Regions from separate parts of the Homo sapiens genome. Here region 2 is linked to region 1. Evidence: promoter capture Hi-C in 16 types of primary human blood cells and fetal thymus (Javierre and others, 2016). All regions are on one chromosome and are shown on one strand. The core of a region is centred on a gene start or on the middle of the fragment in contact, and the rest is flanking DNA. Distances in the headings are between cores, read along the strand shown. Region 1 holds the start of NUDCD3 (NudC domain containing 3). Region 2 holds the start of PSMA2 (proteasome 20S subunit alpha 2).

Region 1 (7,045 bases), core at 1,732-4,231:
TCCCACCCTTATAACCTCATTTAACCTTTAAGTATCTTTTAAAGGCCCTTCTAACCACCAATGTGACTCCAAATATAGTCCCATTGAGGACTGGGGCTTCAACATATGAATCTGGTGGGGGGCAGGCACATTCAGTCCATAACGGCACCAAACTCGACTAGTATGCACTGCCTTACACTTACAGGTTAAAAATGTTCAGTTTCACTTAAGAATGCTCCTGATAGCATTTAATTATTAATTTTATTAAAAGTTGTTTTATTAAAAGTTCTCCACTTGAGAACAAGTCTTTTTAATAGTGCATGATTAAAAGAGAAGTACACATAAGACATGTCTGCCTCATACTGAAGCAAAATGGTTGCACTGATGCAAAGCACTTGTGTGATTGAGTTGCCAATTGAACAAGTCACAGAGCATCATTTTTACTTGAATGACAGAATGAAGTGAGCCTGTCTCTTCAAGGAAAATAATTGATTGTATCTACTTCCAATAATAAAGTTCAAGTTTTTAAGCTAAAATTAGAATTCAAAAAACCCATATCCCGCTTCCATGAGCTTGAGTGCTTGTCAATAAAGACAGACTTCTCTGATGAGTTTAGTGGTAATTCTAACAAATGTTATTTTTTGATATTATATAATGAAATGATATTAGAAACCAAGATCTGGGGGCAAGATATGCTCGTTGCATAAAACGAGTGAACATTTGGAAGAGCTGCATAACACAGTGGACCAACATTTTCAAATGACTAATTAATACATGATGGTATAAAATCATGCATTTATTAACGATCCATTCAAAGTGAAAGACCAATCGATATTAATGTAACAGAGTATGAAAAGTCTATAGATACAGTTTTAGATTCCATATGGCAAGTAACCTTTAAGAAACTACCAGTTACAGGGCTGGGTGCAGTGGCTCACACCTATAATTCCAGCACTTTGGGAGGCTGAGAGGGGAGGATCGCTTGAGCCCATGAGTTTCAGACCAGCCTGAACAATGTAGGCCCAACCTCGTCTCTATAAAAATAATTTAAAAATTAGCCAGGCACAGTGGCATGTGCTTGTAGTTCCAGCTACTCAGAAGGCTGAGGCAGGAGGATTGCTTGAGTTCAAGAGTTCAAGGCTACAGTTAGTTATGATCACATCGTTACATTCCAGCCTGGGTGACAGAGGGAGACCCTGCCTCTTAAAAATAAAAAAAATAGAAACTATCGCTTGTAGAAGAATTTTGATGTCATTTTAAAGACAAATAGCCACATTTATTTGAAAAGACAAAATATTCCTCTCATTTGCAACTGTCTGTGTGAGGTTGCATGTTTTCATATACTTCAATGAAAACAACATAATGCAAATTATGTTGCAGTGAATGCAGATGTGAGAATCTTGTGGTCTTCTTTTTTTTTGTGGAGACGGAGTCTAGCTCTGTCGCCCAGGCTGGAATGCAGTGGTGTGATCTCGGCTCACTGCAACCTCTGCCTCCCGGGTTCAAGCGATTCTCCTGCCTCAGCCTCCAGAGGAGCTGGGATTACAGGCACCTGCCATCACGCCTAGCTAATTTTCGTATTTTTAGTAGAGACAGGGTTTCACTGTGTTGGCCAGGCTGGTCTCGAACTCCTGATCCTCCCGCCTCGGCCTCCCAAAGTGCTGGGATTACAAGCATGAGCTACTGTGCCGGCCAAATCTTGCTGTCTTCTAGTAGGCTCATTAAAGAGATTTGCAAAAATGTAAAACTATGTTACTCCTCTCACTGAACTTTTATTGCTTTGAAGAACATTATTTTTTGCATAAAAGTATGTTAACATGTAATGTGTTTTATGGTCATTTAAAAATGATTAAATAAATATTTAAACATTTTATGTTTTAATTTCTAATGTGGTAAATATTGATAAGCATAACCCATATCAACAAATGTTCTTTGGAATGTTCAACAAATTTTAAGAGGATTAATGGTCCCTAAATCAAGAGTTTCAGAACCACTGTTCTAGGGCAATTTACCTGAGTTGGATTTTATTTACAATTCATTAAAGCTTATACACTATGAAGACATGTTAACTTGCATGTTTTAATCTAGAAGAGGTGCAAATCATTTCTATACACTAGAAATGATAATCTATGGTTTTATCATCTTGTAGAACACCAGCCAGCTTTGTATCCAACCTAATCTTACTCTAATGCTTTGTCAAAATGTTTAATCTCCACTTCCTCAAAATGCTTTTGAACCAGCTTTACCATATCATTGTTAATTTGCTGAAGAAATCTTGGATATGTGTTCATGATATATTTGTATGAGTGTCATGCTTTTTACTTTTTTAAGATTATACTTTGACAGACACTAACAACATATGTATATATGACGTATATATGTATATACATACTATACACACACATACACGTACATATTTCACAACGATGGCATACGGATTCTCTATTCTGAATCTAGCTCTTTCCACTTAATATACGTTGAATGCACTCTTTATTTTCTTCGTCATCTTGACTTTCTTCTGATGCAACGCCCTGAGTTTAACTCACAGATCTGTTAATAAGAAACCCATACATCCCACATATACGCATTTTCCCGTCTCTGGCTCACTAACAAAAAGCTTACCCTAGCCCCATCTTTAACCATAGGTTCCAAATACCCAGGCTGGAATTCAACACAGAAATAAGAAAGGATCCACAGACAACGTGACAAAAATCCGAGCAGTCACGTGACACTGCACGCCCCATAATTTTTTTCCGCCCGCTTCAAACATGGCGGTCAAGCCCTCGCAGCGCAGCAGAAGCCACGGGCTTCCTTCCGCGTAGGAACCTCCTTGCTGCCCTTGTCGGGCTCTTTTGTCTAAGACCACCTCAAGGCAAAGCCCGTGGGGCAGCTGGGTCTGGGGAAAACAGCCCGGGGCCGCGGGGGCCGAACGAGCACGGACCGGAAGTTCCGCAGCCGCGCCGTCCGGCGGAGCCGTTGGCTGCGGACGCCGGAAGTGGCCAGTCGGCAGGTCTGAGGCGGCGCTGTGTGTGTGAAGCGTACCTAGGGCGGGAGGCGACATGGAGACAGGGGCGGCCGAGCTGTATGACCAGGCCCTTTTGGGCATCCTGCAGCACGTGGGCAACGTCCAGGATTTCCTGCGCGTTCTCTTTGGCTTCCTCTACCGCAAGACAGACTTCTATCGCTTGCTGCGCCACCCATCGGACCGCATGGGCTTCCCGCCCGGGGCCGCGCAGGCCTTGGTGCTGCAGGTGAGGCGGGCGGGCCTGCGGTCTGGGGAGCCGCCGCCCCCGGCCTGCCCTGACTCCTGGCGCCCGCTCCTCCAAGCTCTCCCAGCCTGTTTCCTCCTTTTCCTGGTGTCCTGGGGTTGAGCTTGTGAGAATGGCTTCAGTAATTTGAAGCGCGGATTGGATGTCAGCTTATTCCGCTGAGGTGTTCGCTCCGGACGTCCTGAGGTTTCAGAAGTAGTAAGCCGACTGTTAAGAGCCCTACTCAGCACCCGCCAGCGCGTACCCCTCACGGTGCTGGGGGCCGCTAGTCAGGGAGCGAAATCCATGCAGGCCAGACAGAAGGAAGGACATTTACAGCAACAGAAACGTGCATGCCCCAGAACTACCAAAGACTTGAGCTGGCGGGGATGACGGAGGCATTGTGTTGATCAATGGGTGTGGTCGCTTGTTTGAAATGTGACTTCCCAGGTCAAAGACTGTCAATGTAGTGCTTATTAAAATTTCTATTTGAGCTTAATTCCGTACCCTCCAGGTTAAGTTTATTGTATGTTGGAAACGCTGTCAATACTCATTCAGTGAAGTTGACTGGGCACTTTTGAATGTAGTGGTAAGCAACCTTTTGCTGAATGTAGTTTACACTCTTAGTTGCCGCAGGTGAGGGTGATACGGGTGTTTAAGTAATGGTTTCTCTCTCCTTGTGACACAGTTAAAGAGAGAAAACCCAGAAAGTAATAGAAAACTTTTTAAGGGCAATTATTTGATGGAGCCCATTGTAAAGAAAGGAAATAGAAATGATGGTTGAGAAGTGAAGTTTTTATAAGAGAGGTGGGACTTCTGATGAGATTAAAAGAAACTATTCAGCCAAGTATTAAGCCTATTTGTAGAAACCCAAGAAGATAGAAATGCTGATGATACCTCCCTCAGTTCTCTAGATGTTACAGTTTATAAAATGCTTCAGATGTTTCCTCCTGAAGTCTTAATGCATGCTGCAGGTTGGTAAGATGTTACTTTCCTCAGCAGAAGCCAAAGCTTTGAATGTCTTGGTAGCTACCAGGGTAATAGGGCCAAACGAGGAATGGGGTTCCATTAGGATTCAATTTCAGAACTTAAGGCTATTCCTCGTCCTTGTCAGTGGCATAAGTGCCATCTTAGTGATGAGAGAGCTGTTGGAGGTGGCCTTTAGCAGGATCTTATGGCAGGTTAATGAAGTCTTGCCATTTGATCTTCAGTGTCTCTGTGAAACAGATAAGTTTCAAGTTTACGTACCAATTCAGCAAGGTTAAGTGATTTGACCAAGAACACACAGCCAGTTCACCGTAGAGCTGAAACTAAAAATTTCATTTTGTGGATTCCAAATCTTCCTGTTCTGTTGTTTAACCATTCCATAGTAGGATGAGAACACTTTTGTCTAGATTGATTGTAGTTTGCAGAAAGATGTGGAGGAGAAAGGAGTATATACTGAGTAATATGTATAGTATCAGATGTTTTATATTCTGGGGTCGTTATCTTATTTAACCCTTAATATAACCTGAGAGGTTGGTCTTTGTTTCACAGATGAACTGACAGAGCACTCATTAACCTGGTAACTCATTTACCTGGTAACACCTCTTACAAGACACTTCCATAGGTTAGGATTTGGTGACCAGTCTAATGAAGTAGTGGAGATGGGGAGCAGGGATGGAGGAAGGGGAGGGATGGGTCAAAGATGATCCAAGGTTTCAACTTGGGTGACTGGAATAGTGATAATGCGTTAACTGAACTGTCACCTGGGTTTAGGGGAAAAAGTTCAGTTTTAGACAGGTTGAACTTGAAGTTGCAGGTAGGAGTCCCTGCCCATAGGCTATTGGAATTACTGGACTAGATCTTTTGGGAGCTAGAGCAACTGGAGTGGTCCGAGGGAGAGAGAAGAGCCAAAGGTGAAGAACAGGCCTTGGGGAATAATCTTGGTGGAGAGCAATAAGTTTCACAGAAACCAAGGGGACAACAGTCTCCAGCAGATGCTTAAGAGAGGTGTCATGTTTTCTGGAAGTGGTTCTCAACCATCAGCATCGCTTAAGGAACTTTTTTCTTTCTTTTTTTTTTTTTTTTTTTCCTGGAGATGGAGTCTCACTCTGTCGCCCAGGCTGGAGTGCAGTGGCATGATCTCAGCTCACTGCAACCTCCGCCTCCTGGGTTCAAGCAATTCTCCTGCCTCAGCCTCTCGAGTAGCTGGGACTGCAGGTGTGCGCCACCACGCCCGGCTGATTTTTGTATTTTTAGTAGAGATGGGGTTTCATCATGTTGGCGAGACTGGTCTCAAACTCCTGACCTTGTGTTCTGCCTGCCTCGGCCTCCTAAAGTGCTAGGATTACAGGTGTGAGCCACTGCGCCTGGCCAAGGAACTTTTAAAAGCACATATTCCTGGATATTTTGGTTGGGTAGATCAGGGTGAATCCTGGGAACCTGTTCTTTTTTTTATTTTTTTATTTTTTATTTTTGAGATGGAGTCTCATTCTGTTGTCCAGGCTGGAGTGCAGTGGCGCAATCTTGGCTCACTGCACCTCCTCCTCCCAGGTTCAAGTGATTCTCCTGCCTCAGCCTCCCGAGTAGCTGGGTTTACAGGCATGTACCACCATGCCTAGAGAATTTTTGTATTTTTAGTAGTAGAAATGGGGTTTCACCGTGTTGGCCAGGCTGGTCTTGAACTCCTGACCTCAGGTGATCACCCGCCTCAGCCTCCCAAAGTGCTGGGATTACAGACATGAGCTACTGCACCTGGCTGGAACCTGTTCTTTTATCCACAAAAGCTCATTTGACAGGAGGTTTGTAAAGGTGATTTCAGTATTGACAAGGGTTTTATTGTGGGGTGGGACAACACTGAATGAGACTGAGTGACTTGGTACCAGCATAACATTATTTCTTCGTGGTAGTAGGTGATCTCCTGACCTCCCCACTCCTACTCATCTGCCTCTTAGGGTTTTTTTTTTTTTCTGTCCCTAACTTGATGGCATAAGACTCCTTCCTGGGGTCTGCCTCTCCACCCCCACCAGATGTGGGATGCTTGGTGTCTCTGCTGAATATAGGCAGAGAAGAATTTGGATGGGAGTGCTGGGCTGCATCATTGTGGAACTTCAAAGCGTTCCCTTAATATTTTGGGGAGTACAGTGTTGGTGTAGAGTTAGGCAGCTCATACGTTTCCTTTTAAAAGTTTGCATAGCCTGGATACACAGCTTGAAGAACCTCAGCAGGAATGATGTATGTGAAAATTGCATTCCATTTTATAATACATTAGTATGTTTTAAGACAAAAATCGTTTAGACTGACAAGCCATTCATTATAATCGATAATGCTGTTTTTTTTGGAGTCCACTTTGAGAAGTGCTCCTTTGTAGAAGTCCTTGAAACTAGAATCAGGAAAGCTAGCTACATCCTGTTCCTTACATAAATTGTTGAGAAATCTTGGGAGAGTCACTTCACCTCTTGTCAGCTGAGAAGATTGATTGGAGGTTACAGATTAGAGTTCTCTTCCAGCCCTATGTTCTGTGACTCTAGAATGAGTACTGAGAACATGTGATAGTTGGGAGGTTGGCAGTGGTAGCACTTCCTGGTGGTGTGAATGGGTAGGTCAGAGAAGGCTGGATGTACTGAGTGAGCAGAGGCAGCTGCATGGTGAGGACTATCAAGTCTGGGGGTTCTGTGTTCGAAGTCTCAGGTGTTAGGAGAGAGAGATCTTGTTGCTTTGCTTTTGTGGAGTTAAGATGAAGATCTGGAGTATCAGCAGGATGAGCAACTCTGAAAGCATGGACTCAAAGCGGTAGAGACCCTAATGTTAGAATGAAGTCAGGGCTTCAGGTTATC
Region 2 (7,045 bases), core at 4,334-6,833, 1.6 Mb after region 1:
AAACAAAATTTTCGGAGTTTACTCATAATATATTCTTCAAATTATCCCACACAAAACTGCTTAGAAAGAATGTGTTAAACTATACTGATGATTTAAAAACAAGCACAACAACATAAAGAATCTTCCTCTATTTCAGGAGAAATGATTTACTGTGAAGTTACCCTTTTAACATCTTTGGTGTCAATTCTGGGTGAACCAGGATGGTCGCTTTCTGTCTCGTTCAATGATCCTCTTGCCCTGATCTTGTTCAGACGGTGTCTCTCCCGTGTACAGCACCACAGTCTCTATGGTGGGAGCCTTAAAAGGGCCCCCTTCTTGCTTCCCTATCTGTCGTCTGATTTCTGCAGTCTCCTTGCACACCTTTTCATAGCAGTAGGCACAAAGGACATGTTTCTGTTTCAGGTGACCACATTCAGGACAAACGTCTATGTTGTTCTTTAAAACAATAAACAAAAACGTATTTTAACATGAGGCAATATAACGAACAAATAACCACTGACAGGAGCAATGCTTACATTTTAACTTTCTTAGGATGTTCAGGCTACATGAGGTCATCATACACCATCTAGTTCCACCTCACTTTAACAGGAAGACTGAAGACAAGCAACACTGAGTTTGAATTAGAGAAAAACTAGAACTAGAATTCAGCCAACCTGAATCTGGTATCTTTACTTAAACACAGCAGTTGTAGTTATGTAAAAAAGAAAAAAGAAATACTCATTTCCCCTAACTCCAAATACTAAATATCAAATAAGGAATTTGTCAACATAATGAAGTGACCCAAACAATCAGCATCTTAAATAAGACACCAAGGAAAAGTGAATTCCCTTTGTCTTTCAATCTATCTTAGGGAAAACAAGATAAGAACATTACAAGTTGACTTCCTTGGCTTCCTCTTTTTATCACAGTGTAATTCAAATTCCTGTACAGAATACAGGTTTCGTATATGGTATAATTTTTCTTTTTAAAAATGAACACTGATTATTCCTTAATGTAAAATTATTTTCTATGTTACATTCTTAGGGTATTTTAATGATATATATATGTGTGTGTATATATATATATATAGAGATAGATATAGATATATATATATCTCCAACTTTAAATATAAAATAGAAACATTATAACCTCTAAAAGATTTATCAACTTATTCTAGATGTAGGTTTGAAAGAAAATACAAAGAAAAATACTAAACAGGATCATTAAAGAAGCTTTAAACACTTGATAAGATTAATATACTAACATTTGTGAGGCAGATAACAAAAGAATTTCCTTTTCTGAAAGGAAGAAAGAGGCTTGTATATTACTTGCCTAACCATATTCTCATTTTGCTCCACTACTGGAAACTGGATTGCATGCACAACTGAAGGTATGAAGACACCCACAGTCAGCTGGTCTTCCTTTCGTGATCAAAGTACCCAACATAACACACTATATACCGTATGTAACAGAAAATAATTCAAGGAAGAAAATAAATGCACAGGATAAGAACTATTCCTTCAGAATAAATGCGATCAGGGAAGTCACATAATAGATCAGTGCAAGATCTCATTCCTAAAATCTTACGTCCTCTTGAGCAAATTTATGAATTACTGTAAGTCTTAAGTAATAAAGTGTTTTTCAGTTCTACATTTAAGTTCAGCCCCAACCATCACTCAATAATACTTTCTGGCTTAAGTTCTAAGGTTTTGCTTAACAGAATGTGGATGCTTATGAAAGTCAGCTTTCTGTTCTCGAGTTTCATCTGTATGGTGCTGCTGTTGTGGAACGCCATGAAGTAAACAGTAACTGAAATCCTAACTGTTAAAACCATACATGAACAGATCAGAGGTAATACACACTGTAATTTTTCTTTACTAGATCAATGAAGACAGTACATCCATGTTGTCAGCGAGGAGAATCTGAAATTGTCTGAGGATAGGAGAACACAAAGAAAATCTTTAAAAGAACATGAGGTCAAAAATCAGAGCTCGAAAATCTACTGCTTCATAGCTGTGTGACCACAGGCAAATTCTTTTTGCCTCAGTTTTTTCATCCTAATAATGAAGAATATCTTATTTGCTTTGGAGGGCTATAAGACATGATGAGATATAATAAACATAAGGCACTGAGATACATCATAGACACTTAATTGTTGTTAGCTATTATATTACTTATCTTAGGGTTTTCCTTCATGGTATTTTGTTGGAAATGATAAAAAAATAAAACAAATATGTAAGGGCTTGTAAAACCCAAGATTCAGTATACCTACTGCTTCTAGCTTTAATTCTAGGCTCTGCCATAGTTAGGATGTTTACTCATCTGTAGTTCAAAACTCACACAGCTCAAGACTGACACAGCTCACAATTCAGAAGTCATGTAGGCACCTCACAGCCTCGTTCCTTGCCCAGTCTCCAAACTCACTCCTTCCTTGACTGTGTTTCTAATACTCAGGCTAGAGGACAGCAGGCTCTAGCCTTCTCATTATGTATATAATGAGAATACTGTATTTCATTTAGGCCAGAGGAAAGTAGACACATATAATCTGATAATAATTTATTCCTAGGCTATAGGAATCTACCATGAGCTTATTCAATGGAGGACTTGAGGAAAAGCACACCCACAAAAATCAATGCATTACCTTAACTTTAATAAGCTTCTGCGGATTTCTTCTCCTACACCGGTTAACTTCAATGGTGCGTCTATTTTTGGGAGCTGCCATCCAAAAGATACTGTCCAAAAGGCTGGAATTCTCTTTACTTCCACTGGTATCATTTGCTGGCTCTGTAAACATGGCTGGGCCCTGTACTGCTAATGCTGGTCCTAGGAAATAAAACATAAGAGATACAGAATTAGTTTCTAGCTTCTAAATTACTATTTACAGATATCATTTTCCTTAACAATCAATGGTCAAACATACACACACACAAAAACTATATATAAAATTTAGAATGTGAAACTCAATAATGAGAAACCTTAGCTATTAAAATACACTAAAGCTTATACAATTTTAAGGAACACAGAATTTTTTCTTAGCGGATCCTGCTGAAAAGAAGATCAGTGAAATTCCATCAAGTTTCTTATCTCATAAAATACAGGACTCTGATAGGCACCTAACTTGAACAAAACAAGCAAAGAATCACTCAACTGTCCACATTCTATTAATACTTGGCGGGTAGTAAGTACCTGATTAATTTACAAGTAAATCTAGACAGATTTCCTGAATACACTTCTGACCGGCACTGATGTAACTGCCAATTGCCTTTTCTTATATTCAAACTGAGTCAGGTCCTTTATGATACAACCTCTTAAGTCACTTAGTTCCTCATAACATTTAATCTTGATTCCTGTCTGCTCTCTAAAGAAAAGAGCCAGCTCACCATTTCTCTGTATGGCCTTATTTATGTGACTATCAAAGTTTCTCTTTTTCTGAATTGCTTATAAAATCAACATTCCTTTACCCTTTCCTTGCTATTTCTTAGACGTGCCATACTTTTTTTTTTTTTTTTTGAGACTGAGTCTCACTCTGTCACTCAGGCTAGAGTGCAGTGGCGTGACCTCGGCTCACTGCAACCTCCGCCTCCCTGGTTCAAGTGATTCTCCTGCCTCAGCCTCCCAAGTAGCTGGGATTACAGGTGTGCACCACCACGCCTGGTTAATTTTGTATTTTTAGTAGAGACAGGGTTTCACAATGTTGGCCAGGCTGGTCTTGAACTCCTGACCTTAGGTGATGGACCCACCTTGGCCTCCCAAAGTGCTGAGATTACAGGTGTGAGCCACCGCGCCCAGCCCACATACTTCTTTTGATCTTAAGAACTCTTAAAAATACACAAAGTTCTCTAACACTTAACAACTGGCATTTATTTTCAGTATGTCCACAAGTATTGCCAAGCATGCCCCGGTGATTAACAACACAGGCTCAGGACTGTCTGTGAACTTGGGACCATTGTGAGCCTACTGTTTCAGTTGGAAAGTGTATACACCTAATGGGACTGTTGTCAAGATTATCCCAGGAAGTACATGTAGAAAGCTTGGCACATTGCTTGGCATATAGTGGCATATATTTTCTTGGTATATTTCTGGATATTATCACTTTCAGGCTGCTTAGAAATTGAGTAGAATGTAAATGCCAAAGCCATGACAGTTTCAACATCCAAGATACTTCCAATTAAAATTAATTCCAAGTGAAACATGGGAAACAGAATTCAGCTCCTCAGAGCTCAAACACCACAGAAAACATGTACTGCGCGGGAGGGAGGGAGGAAGGGAGGAAAGAAGGGAGGGAAGGGAAGGGAAGAGGAGAGGGGGGAGAGGGGAAGCGGGAGGGGAGGTGAGGGCAGGGCTGGAAAGGAAAGACAGATCCAGAGAGTGGTGAGCCTTGATGCCAAGTGAGACCTGCAGAACTGTCCTCTCAGGACAACTCTGTACAAATCCCTGAACTCCACAGACTTGACCAAACTCTAGCATAGTTTCTAGCAGCATAAGGCTGTATCCTAGGATGACCTCGGCCCCCCCTTTAAAGTGCCTGCCTGAGAAAGCTCAACGCTGCCTGGAAAATTTCCTATTTATTTTGGCCAACATACCCCGATAGTAGGTCCCGAACTCCCTTAGAGCATTTCCTGGAAAGGGCATATAATTGTAAATACGTATCCCTTGCAACTAACTCGGAAGCTTTTCTTTCAAGGCCCTGAGAGCCATTCCTTCGAAATCTAATCATTAGGAAGGATAGGGCCTTTGTCTCCCAGTCTCTGCGGGAGGATAGAATTCTCCCTAAGACAACTGCGAGCTAGCAGACACAGCCGGCTAATCACATTTGCACTGACTTCACTATACTACACTTCTCTGACTCTACAGAGCCCCTACACTCCCGCCTCGCTCATTCTCCCTTTAAAACGCCCAAAGTCACCTCTGCACAAACCGGGATGGAGCTCAGCTCTTTACCTGCAGTAGTTACTGAATAAAATCTGTTTTCAGCGCTTTACTTACTGGCTGGCTATGATTTATCTTTGACACAAGCTTGGGTTACATTCTGTGTACGAATGGAACAAGCAGAGGAATTTTTTTTTTTTTTTTTTTGCGGTGGAGGGAGCGCAAAAACAGTCGTTCTGTTCTCGCTAATATGGGAATGTCACGAACTACGTCCCCGACATGAGGCCGCGGATCAGAACCGGGGCTGAGGGCGAACTGTGTAAGCTGCGTCTGCTACGCTGCCCGAGGTCCCGTCATCAGCCCCCTCTCCCACGGAGCCCTTCTTTACCTACCCCACGGAGGACTGGGAAAGCCCGGCCGGCTCTGCGGAAGCTTCCGTAGCAGTCGCTCCCAGTAGTTTCGAAGCACTCCCCGGGCCGCAGACCACGGCGAAACCACCAAGACCAGCATGGCCAGCGCCATTTTCCCTGCTGGAAGACCGCCCCGGTCCCGCCCCTGCTTTCAGCATGCGCACAGGCACAGAATCGGGCAAGCCTCGCTTCTTAGAACTACAACACCCCGCATGCTCTTGGAGCAGCTCTGACTCTCCTCCAATCATAGAGAGTAAAGGAAAGGTGAGGGGCGGGGAAATGAAAGGAAATCGGCCACAGTGCGCATGTGTGCGGCTGTGCTTTGGCTCTTCGGGTAAAGATGGCGGAGCGCGGGTACAGCTTTTCGCTGACTACATTCAGGTATGGAAGGGGCCCTCGAGGTCTTCAGCGTAGTCGAGGTTGCTGGTACTCTGTCGATTTAGTTTTTCCCATCCTGACGTCGGCATTGGTGCTTCTGGAGGGTCCAGTAGGGAATGGAGTTGGAAATGCGGCTTTGCAAAGTCATTTGCCAGGCCGACCCGGGATTCCTGGAGCTTCCTTGGTCGGAGGCTGCTGGAGGGTCGGGGGGATGCGGTTTTGCGGGGTTAACATGGGGCTGCGGGACGGTGAGGCACATAGCCAAGGATTCGCTTTCACTTTGGAGACCAGAAAAGAAGGCAGTTTTAGCTTAACCATCTCTGGGTGGCCCGTTCCGAACTCAGGATTTTTTTCCTGGCTCAAGTAGACCTGATGCGGTGGTTTCTGAAACTTGGAATCTTGGTCAAATATGTGGGGTTCCCTTTTCTTGGAAAACTCTCAGCTTTACAGTTAAGTCGGAGTCTTGGTCTCCATTTGGCACTAGTGTCTTTCAAAACCTCCCGCTTTCGGTTTCTTCGATGCACGAATTAGAAACATAAGGACTAAAAACCGAAAGCCCCTATCACTTTTTTGTGAACCCCTAACAACGAGGCAAGTTTGAGTTTTGGTCTTTTTTTGGTGGACTGGGGGGAACGTCGGGGAGGGGGATGTTTACTTTAAACAAGATTGTAGGTTTTTCTATTGTAGAAAAGGGGATTAGAATAATAAGTTTACTTTCCAAAATACAGTTGGGGCGAACCATGGCTCTCAACGTGAGAAAACCATCGCCGAAGACTTTTAAAAATTGACTGGGGAAGTTTTCTGACTTACCCATTTTCTTAAGGATCAGTAATGCCCAGTTTACTTAAAATGTACTCCTGACAACTGAAGGCAGGCGGGATCTAACTTGTTGAGTACTTTGTTAGGTGCAACTTAACCTTAACCTGCTCCATCTCTTTCCACTGCTATAATGAATGTTATCTCAGCTTCTTACAGATGAACTAACCGCAGCTTGTACAAATTAAACAACTTGTCTAAGGTCATCGGTGAGTAGCTGAGTTGACATTCAAACTGGGTTTTTTTTCTGATAACAAAAATACACTTTCCATTACATAACGTTGTCTTAAATTCCAAAAGTACTTTTCTCTTGGCAGTTTTCAGTAAGCAGTGGGTGTATGTAATAGTTTTTTTGTAACCTTTGAACGAGATTAATTTAATTATGCAATAAAAGGTCTCATTATATTACATATGACAGAATAGTGTGTGCAGGATGTATTCACTGTTCCTATTTATGAAGAAAACAAATGTGGTCCTTTTTTTAGGGACAGGGACTTGGCAGCCTCCAGCTCTTGGGCTCAAGGGATCCTCCTGCCTCAGTCTCTGGAGTAGCTGGGACTAGAGGTGTGCACCACCCTGCCTGCTAATTTTTT

Evidence for each region. The method cuts DNA at HindIII sites, captures the fragments that hold promoters and counts their contacts. A CHiCAGO score of 5 or more calls a contact.
Region 2: the fragment with the promoter of PSMA2 here is called in contact with the fragment with the promoter of NUDCD3 in region 1 in 8 of 17 cell types (non-activated CD4 T cells, fetal thymus, total CD8 T cells and 5 more); the score reaches 13.6 in non-activated CD4 T cells.

Annotation. Positions count from the first base shown.
Region 1 is chr7:44,486,594-44,493,638 of GRCh38, reverse strand. NUDCD3 (NudC domain containing 3) reads left to right here and starts at 2,981. Exons shown (of 6, transcript NM_015332.4): 1 at 2,981-3,230. The coding sequence starts at 3,039. RefSeq lists silencers at 1,038-1,164, 3,230-3,399. The HindIII fragment of the contact is 1,642 bases long and covers 2,599-4,240 here.
Region 2 is chr7:42,930,712-42,937,756 of GRCh38, reverse strand. PSMA2 (proteasome 20S subunit alpha 2) reads left to right here and starts at 5,583. Exons shown (of 8, transcript NM_002787.5): 1 at 5,583-5,639. The coding sequence starts at 5,599. It overlaps MRPL32 (mitochondrial ribosomal protein L32), which reads right to left and starts at 5,381. Exons shown (of 3, transcript NM_031903.3): 1 at 5,241-5,381; 2 at 2,621-2,802; 3 at 1-435. The coding sequence starts at 5,370. The coding sequence ends at 181. RefSeq lists an enhancer at 5,203-5,432. The HindIII fragment of the contact is 5,414 bases long and covers 5,283-7,045 here.